Linked DNA regions of Homo sapiens: region 2 is linked to region 1. The links are contacts of gene promoters, found by promoter capture Hi-C in human tissues and cell types (Jung and others, 2019). All regions are on one chromosome and are shown on one strand. Each heading gives the region's core, a stretch centred on a gene start or on the middle of the fragment in contact. The rest is flanking DNA. Distances are from core to core; before and after follow the strand shown. Region 1 holds the start of CAPS (calcyphosine). Region 2 has its middle 7.1 kb from the start of MLLT1.

Region 1 (4,482 bases), core at 1,051-3,550:
CAGCTGTGAGCCACCGCGCCCAGCCCTGGCCTCTTTTTTTAAGTTATTTATTTATTTTTGAGACAGAGTCTCACTCTGTCGCCCAGGCTGTGGTGCAGTGGCATGGTCTTGGTTCACTGCAACCTCTGCCTCCTGGGTTCAAGTGATTCTCCTGCCTCAGCCTCTGGAGTAGGTGGGATTACAGGCACCCGCCACCATACCTGGCTAATTTTCTTTTTTTTTTTTTGAGACAAAGTCTTGCTCTTGTCCCCCAGTCTGGAGTGCAATGGCACGATCTCGGCTCACTGCAACCTCCGCTTCCCAGGTTCATGCAATTCTCCTGCCTCAGCCTCCCGAGTAGCTGGGATTACAGGCACATACCACCACGCCCAGCTAGTTTTTCGTATTTTAAGTAGAGACAGGGTTTCACCATGTTGGCCAGGCTGGTCTCAAACTCCTGACCTCAGGTGATCTGTCTGCCTCGGCCTCCCAAAGTGCTGTGATTACAGGCATGAGCCACCGCACCCGGCTGACTAATTTTTGTATTTATAGTAGAGACAGGGTTTCACCATGTTGGCCAGGCTGGTCTCGAACTGCTGACCTCATGATCTGCCCGCCTCGGCCTCCCAAAGTGCTGGGATTACAGGCGTGAGCCACCGTGCCCGGCCAGTTTATTTACTTATTTTTAAGAGGCGGGCGTCTTGCTCTGTAACCCAGGCTGGAGTGCAGTGGTGCGATCATAGCTCACTGCAGCCTCCAACTCCCGGGCTCAAGTGATCCTCCTGCCTCAGCCTTCCAAGTAGGTGGGATTACAGGAACACACCACCATGCCTGGCTAATTTTTTGTAGTTTTTGTAGAGATGGGGGGGTCTCACTATGTTGCACAGGCGGGTCTCAAACTCCTGGGCTCAAGTGATCTTCCTGCCCTGGCTTCCCAAAGTGTTGGGATTACAGGCATGAGCCACCGCGCTCAGGCAAGGCAACTTCTGACAATATAATTGTGCTGTGAGCGAGGTAAAGCCAGGCTTGGAGAAGGCTCCGATTGATGATCCTTGGGTCGGGGCGAACAGTGGGTCCTCAAACAGGGCCCACGTTTCAAGTCCTGGAAAACCCACCTATCTTAGCGGGCAGGTATATCCGATGTCTCCGTTGAAGGCCTTCAGTGAGGTGGCTTCGTCTCTTGAGGTTTATGTCCAGGATCAGGGCTGCTCTTCCACTCGGGGTCACAACCTCTGGCTCACCACCTTGTCAGGAGCCAGCCCACTAAGTCACGTTTCAGGCCTGAAAACCAACAACAAAAGATCCGTAAAGACAGAAATCCTGGGACTGGCTCCTAACAACGGCCAGTGACAAGCTTTGTGGCAGTGAGCAGAGGTGTCCCTCAGGCTCAGCTCAGTCTCTGTGGGTTGCAGGACCTGCCCTTGGAGGTGGGCCTGGGTGGGAGGTCTTAGGGCCCCAGGACCTGGGCCACCTGGGGCTTTTTTTTTTTTTTTCTTTTTGAGATGGAGTCTTGCTCTGTCGCCCAGACTGGAGTGCAGTGGTGCAATCTTGGCTCACTGCAAGCTCCACCTCCTGGGTTCAAGCGATTCTCCTGCCTCAGCTTCCTAAGTAGCTCGGATTACAGGCGCCCACCATCATGCACGGCTAATTTTTGTATTTTTAGTAGAGGCGGGGTTTCACCATGTTGGTCAGGCTGGTCTCAAACTCCTCACCTTGTGATCTGCCCACCTCGGCCTCCCAAAGTGCTGGGATTACAGGCATGAGCCACCGCGCCCAGCCCACCTGGGGCATTTTTGTTGCTGTACAATAGAAACAAGTTCTCTATATGTTCCCCAGGCTGGTCCAAACTCCTGGGCTCAAGTGATCCTCCCACCTAGACCTCCCAAAGTGCTGGGATTTCAGGCATGAGCCGCAGTGGCCGGTCAGAACCTGGGGCCCTTTTGAACTTTGATTCCTCAGCAATTTTGTCAGCCCTGGCTCGGGCTGAGAAGCCCCTGTGAAGCCAGAGAGGGAAAGGGACCTGTCCAGGGTCACACAGGAATCATGCGTCAAGCCTCCCCAGCCACGGACTTGTCTCCATCCAGGGCATTTCAGCCCCTGCAGGGCAGTGGCCTGCCCCTCCTCCTTGGAGCCAGGAAGGGATGCAGTGCCACAGGGATCTGGCTCTGTCCCAGGCCCTGTGGGGCTGGCAGTTGAGTAAGCAGTCAGGCTGGGCGCACCCATCCCTCCCCCACTCCCCACTGCCCAGCACAGTGCATTCATGCAGCTGGGCCCCACCCCATCTCCAGAGGCACCTTCCACTAGCAACAGTCTCCCCAGGCACAACACAGCTAACACAAGGCCCCGCAGGCAGGACTCTGGGACAGACGCAGGCCAGGTGAGCATCTGAACAAGGGGCAGTCGGCCAGGGTGGGCTTGCGGGAGTCCCCACCTTGACCTCTCTCCCTTCCAGCTGCCCAGAGCCCAGACCAAGCATGGACGCCGTGGATGCCACCATGGAGAAACTCCGGGCACAGTGCCTGTCCCGCGGGGCCTCGGGCATCCAGGGCCTGGCCAGGTGAGCTGTCCCCTCTCACCTTCCTGACCCCGGCCCCTGAGACCACTGTTCCAACCGTGTCCCCTGCCTCCAGGTTTTTCCGCCAACTAGACCGGGACGGGAGCAGATCCCTGGACGCTGATGAGTTCCGGCAGGGTCTGGCCAAACTCGGGCTGGTGCTGGACCAGGCGGAGGCAGAGGGTGTGTGCAGGAAGTGGGACCGCAATGGCAGCGGGACGCTGGATCTGGAGGAGTTCCTTCGGGCGCTGCGGGTGAGCCCCCACCTCACAGTCAAGGCGTGTGCCCTGGGCATGGGGCGACAGAGGATGCTGAGATGCGGAGACGGGGACTCCTCCCTAAGAGCTGCTGTTAAGAGGCGCCTGCTGGGGCATACAGCCCCAGTGCTCTGCACAGCGTCTTGGGGGTTTGGGTGTGCTACCCACCACCCCCAGTCACCACCTCCTGTCCCAGCCCCCCATGTCCCAGGCCCGGGAGGCTGTCATCGCAGCTGCATTTGCCAAGCTGGACCGCAGTGGGGACGGCGTCGTGACGGTGGACGACCTCCGCGGGGTGTACAGTGGCCGTGCCCACCCCAAGGTGCGCAGTGGGGAGTGGACCGAGGACGAGGTGCTGCGCCGCTTCCTGGACAACTTCGACTCCTCTGAGAAGGACGGGCAGGTGGGTGGCTGCGCGGGGGGCCCCCTCCCCAGGCAGTTCCTCGGCCGTGCCCCCTCACGGCCCTCTGTTCCCAGGTCACACTGGCGGAATTCCAGGACTACTACAGCGGCGTGAGTGCCTCCATGAACACGGATGAGGAGTTCGTGGCCATGATGACCAGTGCCTGGCAGCTGTGAGCAGCTCCGGCTCAGCCCTGCTGCCCTGGCCTGTCACTCCCCACCCCTGCCGGAGACCTCCCTTCCCTGGGCCCCTTCTCTCCTGGGCAGCCACACCACAGAGCGGGGAGGGGCAGGTGGGGGAATGGAGGCTGCAGGACTGGCTAGACCAGGTCCCTGCCGGTCCACCAGGCGGAGGTGGGACAAAGGTCCTAACAGGAGTCACTGGCTCAGGACCCCAGGGAGAAACGCTCTCCCCACCCACGCCATGCTGACCAGAGATCTTGCAGCCCCTGTGGATGCCCCCGCCGAGGTCCCCCGATCCCCGCACCCGGACTGCTGCTCCCTGCCCCTCCCTTGCGGGTCCCCCAGGAAGCCAGGTGACCCCAGGTGGGAGGCTGTGTGTGGAGGCCATCCTGGAAGGAAGTTTAGACCTGCCCAGGTGTGGAGCGAGGGGCACAGGGGCATCCTAACCTCAGAAACTGAAATAAAGCCTTTGAAAAAAAAATCTGTAAAACATCAACCCCCAATCAGAAGATGGCAAATGGGGAATAAAAATAGCAGGTAACATGTCCAGCGGGCCCAGTATCTACATTCTGGTGAGCGGCCCGAGGCTGGGAGCTCTGGGCGGGGGCAGACCGGCGGGGCCTTGCAGCAGGGGTGGGGGTAAAGTGCGGGTGGTGGTGGAGAGAACAGGGCTGTGGCTGGACCCCAGCACTGGTGACACGCTGGGTGGGAGCATGAGGCCCCAGGCTGCTGGAGGTCCTCGCCCGGGGAGGTGGAGGCCGTTCCTGGTCAGGGGCTTCCTGAGGCCCCTGGGGCATGCAGAGGCCAGGGTTTTAGTTAAAAGTTTAATGTAGTTCCCAAATACATTTCATATGACAATCTTACATAAATGTTCCAAAACACATGGGCGTTATCTCGTTGTACTCGTCACTAGCTGGCTAAGGCTTAAAGCAGAGACGTGTGACTGGGTCTCTCGGGAGGGCCTCTGGTTCTTCCCGGGCTCAGGCTTGCTGGGGGCTGGGGGCCAGGGCTCTGGCGACCTAGAGGTGTGGACGGCACAGCTGCAGGAGGCCTTCTCTTAACCCTCCGAGAGTGGGACTGGGAGATTTCCTCTGAAGTCCCAAAGAG
Region 2 (4,482 bases), core at 1,148-3,647, 370 kb after region 1:
GCTGGAGTCCAGTGGCAGTCTCAATTCACTGCAACCTCCACCTCCCAGGCTCAAGTGTTCCTCCTGCCTCAGTCTCCCAAGTAGCCAAGAATAAAGGCTCATACCACCATGCTCAGCTAATTTTTGTATTTTCTTTTTTTTGTGGAGACAGAGTCTTGTTATGTTTCTGAGTCTGGTCTTGAATTCCTGGGCTCAAGTGATCCACCTGCCTCAGCCTCCCAAAGTGCTGAGATTACAGGCATGAGTTACCATGCCTGGCCAGCATCTGTCTTTGAAGAAAGCTTGCAGGAAAGAACCTTTAGTCTACACTTGCTACAAATATGAGCTTCTGGAACTCAATCCCCTCCCCCTTATTCAGTTGGGAAATTACTGTTCACTTAGGTTCTAAATTGTTGGGAATTTTCAAAACTGCATCCCCTGGGCTCCCACTGGCTGAGGTGGAATACTTTGAACATCGAAAAGAATAATGGGGAAGGGCCGGGTGTGGTGGCTCACGCCTGTAATCCCAGCCCTTTGGGAGGCTGAAGAGGGCGGATCACGAGGTTAGGAGATTGAGACCATCCGGGCTAACACAGTGAAACCCCGTCTCTACTAAAAATACAAAACAAACAAACAAACAAACAAAAAAAAAACAATTAGCCGGGTGTGGTGGCGGGCGCCTGTAGTCCCAGCTACTCAGGAGGCTGAGGCCGGGGAATGGCATGAACCCGGGAGGCAGAGCTTGCAGTGAGCCAAGATTGCACCACTGCACTTCAGCCTGGGCGACAGAGTGAGACTCTGTCTCAAAAAAAAAAGAAAAAAAAAGAATAATGAGGAAGGAACTGAATGTCTACTGACACATGAGCGGATAAACTAAACATGGTTTATCCATGCAATAGAAGCTTATTCAACCTTAGAAAGGAAGAAAATAGGGTGTAGTGGTGTGCACCTGTAGTCCCAGCTACTTAGAAGGCTGAGACAGGAGGATTGCTTGAGCGCAGGAGTTTGAGGCTGCAGTGGGCTATGATTGCACTGATGGCAGTGGCTGGCCATCTGGACTGGCCACCACCATCTTACTAGCTGCAGCACAGAGGAATGGCCAGGACTGCATGTTCCATAGATCTGGCAGAAGCTGGTGACAAGTGGGAGCCCCGCCCCTTCTGCATTGGGGTGGGAGCTCCCTGGGTGGTGCTGCAGCCACTAAAGCCATGGCTACAGACCTGGGCATTACTGGGCTCTCAGGCCCAGAGGCAGGCAGGAGCCCCACCCTCCCAGGTGCAGCTGCAGCTGTCCAAACTGCAGCTGCAGATTAGGAGTCCCTGCACTCCTAGGGGCCCGGGAAGGTTCCCCCTGCCCTTGCAGGCTCAGAAATGTCTGCTTCCACTGCTTGGCTTCTCCCTGCTGTTGGTGCCCACTCCATCTCAAAGCAAAGTTGGGGCTGAGCCCCAGAGCTGTTGCAGCCAGGCAGGGTGTGCACAAACTTGGGGCAGCACAGACACACCAGCCCCCTGCTACCTCAGCCCCATCTGGACTTCGGGCACCAACGAGCATAGGAGGGAAGCCAAAGGGGGGGCTGAGGGCAGCTCAGTGCTGACCTGCATGCGCCCCTTGGCACCTATAGCCTGGGCACCATCAACAGCAGCAGGAGGTAGACAGGTTCCTGGATGGAAGGGGATGGGTCCCTGGTGAGGCCCCACCTTCAGGCCAGGGAGGGCCTGAAGGCTAGGGGCTGGGCTACCAGCCCCATGGACTGGAGTGGAAACATGTGATGCCTTTTCCAGGCCTGCTCATGGACCAATCAGCATGCATTTTTTCCCCTCTGAGGCCCATAAAAGCCCTGGGCTCAGCCAAAGCTGGGCAGATATCGGGATGACCAGCTTCAGAGAGCAGCTACCAACTCCAGGGCCTCCTCTCTGCTGAGAGCTGCAGAGACGTCGGGACTACCAGCTGCAGAGAGGAGCAACTCACTCTAAGGCCTCTTCTTTGCTAAGAGCTGGGATGAACATGGGATGACCTGCCTGCAGAGAGAAGCAACTCACCCCAGGGCCTCCTTCTGCTGAGAGCTGCAGGGAATGATGGCACAACCTGCTTGCAGAGAGGAGCTACCCACTCCAGGGCCTCCCCTCTGCTGAAAGCTGGGCAAGCAATGGGACAACCTGCCCGCAGAGAGAAGCTACCCACTCCAGGGCCTCCTCTTCACTGAGAGCCACAGAAAATGACAGGATGGACTGCCTGCAGAGAGGAGCTACCCAATCCAAGGCCTCCTCTGAGCTACTCTGTCGCTCAATAAAGCTCCTGTTCACCTTGCTCACCCTCCACTTGTCCACATACCTCATTCTTCTTGGGCACAGGACAAGAATTCAGGAACTGCTAAACAGCAGGGCTGAAAGAGCTATAAAACCCACAGGGCTGAAACATGCGCCTTGCCATGTTGTGGGTGAAGAGAAGGAGAGAAGAGCTGTGGCCCTTCAGGGACCTAGGAGCTCCCTGAGCCAGGGCTGTGACTCCCTCTTTGGACCCCAGTGTTTCCTATAGTCTCCAAGCTTCTGAGTGCCACTGCATTCCCTGGTGGCAGCTGTGGAAGCTGCTTATGGTGCACCTGGTCTGGCCGCAGCCTCTCAGAGAGCCAGGGCCCCTGCCAGCACCTGGAGCTGTCTGCTCTGCTGCAGCAGCTGGTGTGCCTGGCTGCATGCAGTGGCCGGACCTCATGCTTGCTTGCTTGCTCACACACCCCTCGCCCCTCCATGCCTGGCTTGCCCTTGGCAAGTGTGAGATCCAGGCTAGTAGTGTGAGCTGAGCACAGCCTGCCAGGCCGTGTGGGTGGAATGAGCCCAGTGGGCCCGAGCAAAACTCAGGCAAAGGTGCCACCAGCCACAGAGGTTTCCAACCAGAAATCAACACCCCAAGGATCCTGCAACATTTTTGAGGGCTCGTCCAGGATCTGCAGAAGGGTGAGTGAAAGGGTGAGTAAAAGCAGATCTGCTCTTTCTGTCCCTTTTTAGGAGTCCCTAAACTCAACAATAGCTAAAATGAAAGAAAAACACCAGGCCTCTATTAGCCAGTTAAAATTAACTAGCAGAGATGCTGGACTTAAAACATGGATGATAGCCTTGCTGGGGAGGACACTGTCAATCCCTCATCATCCTCAAGTGTTGAGAATGTTGGGTTTGTTTCAATCCCGTTTCCTTCCATGAGGTCTACCTGTTACATGGGACCAGAAGGAGGTCCTGGGGCAACTGAGGGTATCTGGCTGAGGCTATGCCTCAGTGTTATCCAAAGGCCCCTGGACTAACTCCTGAAACTCAAGTCCCTAAGCGCCCATTAGGGTGTTGTTGGCACTAGGACCTCCAGTCTCCTATCTTTCTTTCTTTCATGGTTGTCAAGGTTCTTATCTCTTCTTTTTTTTTTTTTTTTTTGAGATGGAGTCTTGCTCTGTCGCCCAGGCTGGAGTGCAGTGGCATGGCATGATCTTGACTCCTGACCTTAGGTGATCCACCCACCTTGACCTCCCAAAGTGTTGAGATTACAGGCATGAGCCACTGCACCCAGCTCCTATCTCTTCTTTATATACAACATTAAATTTCTGTGCGCACGCGTGTGTGTGTGTGTGTGTGTGTGTGTGTGTTTGAGACAGAGCCTTGCTCTGTCGCCCAGGCTGGAGTGCAGTGGTGTGATCTTATCTCACTGCAACATCTGCCTCCAAAGTAGTTGGGATTTCAGGCATGCACCACCATGCCTGGCTAATTTTTGTATTTTAATAGAGATGGGGTTTCACCATGTTGGGCAGGCTTGTCTTGAACACCTGACCTCAGGTCATCCACCTGCCTCGCCCTCCCAAAGGGCTGGGATTACAGGTATGAGCCACCGCATCCAGCCTACAATGTTAAATGTTAAGAATGTTGCTGCAAAACAGAGAAATTACTGGATAGAATGAGCATTTGGCTTAGTCATCAAAAGTATAAAATGGAAGGTTAAGAGTAGCACAGATGAGCAAAGTGTGCCTTGGTATCTGTACATAATTTTGTGGGAAAAATGTTATTGTCATTTCCTTGGTTGCCATCTTGGTGCAAGGCACCTTGAGGCACAGAACAGAAGCATGGCCTCAGGAAGGAAGCTTTTCTGTAAACACAAGGGCAAATAAATGGTCCAAGGTCCCATACATGCAGGCCTTCTTTGCCTTGCAGGGTAATCTGGACCTTTGCCAACATTGTAGGATTGATTCAGCTGTCCTAATGGCCTTCTCAGGAGAAGCTGCAAGGGGTAATCCCAGAGAAATAGGGAAGCATACCCCAGAGGTACCTCCAGCAGGGGAATCAATCCCCTCAACTCCTCCCTATCCAGGTTCTCTCTCAAGCTTGCCCCGGCATAGTAATCCTTGTTTAAGGCAGGTCCCAGTCTCAACTGCCCAAAAACAGATGCCTGGTGAATATGGTCCCATTGAAGTTCAGTTTTCCTTTTCTCTATAGAACTTAAGGCAAATTTAAGGGGAGATCTTGGCAAGTT

Evidence for each region. The method cuts DNA at HindIII sites, captures the fragments that hold promoters and counts their contacts. A contact is called where the count stands out against the background at its distance.
Region 2: a fragment that was not itself captured here is called in contact with the fragment with the promoter of CAPS in region 1 in 1 of the 25 tissues and cell types used here (pancreas).

What each region holds. Positions count from the first base shown.
Region 1 is chr19:5,911,954-5,916,435 of GRCh38, forward strand. CAPS (calcyphosine) reads left to right here and starts at 2,301. Exons shown (of 5, transcript NM_004058.5): 1 at 2,301-2,356; 2 at 2,432-2,536; 3 at 2,610-2,787; 4 at 2,987-3,193; 5 at 3,268-4,258. The coding sequence starts at 2,454. The coding sequence ends at 3,369. It overlaps RANBP3 (RAN binding protein 3), which reads right to left. Exons shown (of 17, transcript NM_007322.3): 17 at 4,186-4,482. The HindIII fragment of the contact is 10,666 bases long and covers 1-4,482 here.
Region 2 is chr19:6,284,793-6,289,274 of GRCh38, forward strand. No RefSeq gene overlaps it. Among named protein-coding and RNA genes, the nearest start is that of MLLT1, 7.1 kb to the left of the region's middle. The HindIII fragment of the contact is 3,632 bases long and covers 582-4,213 here.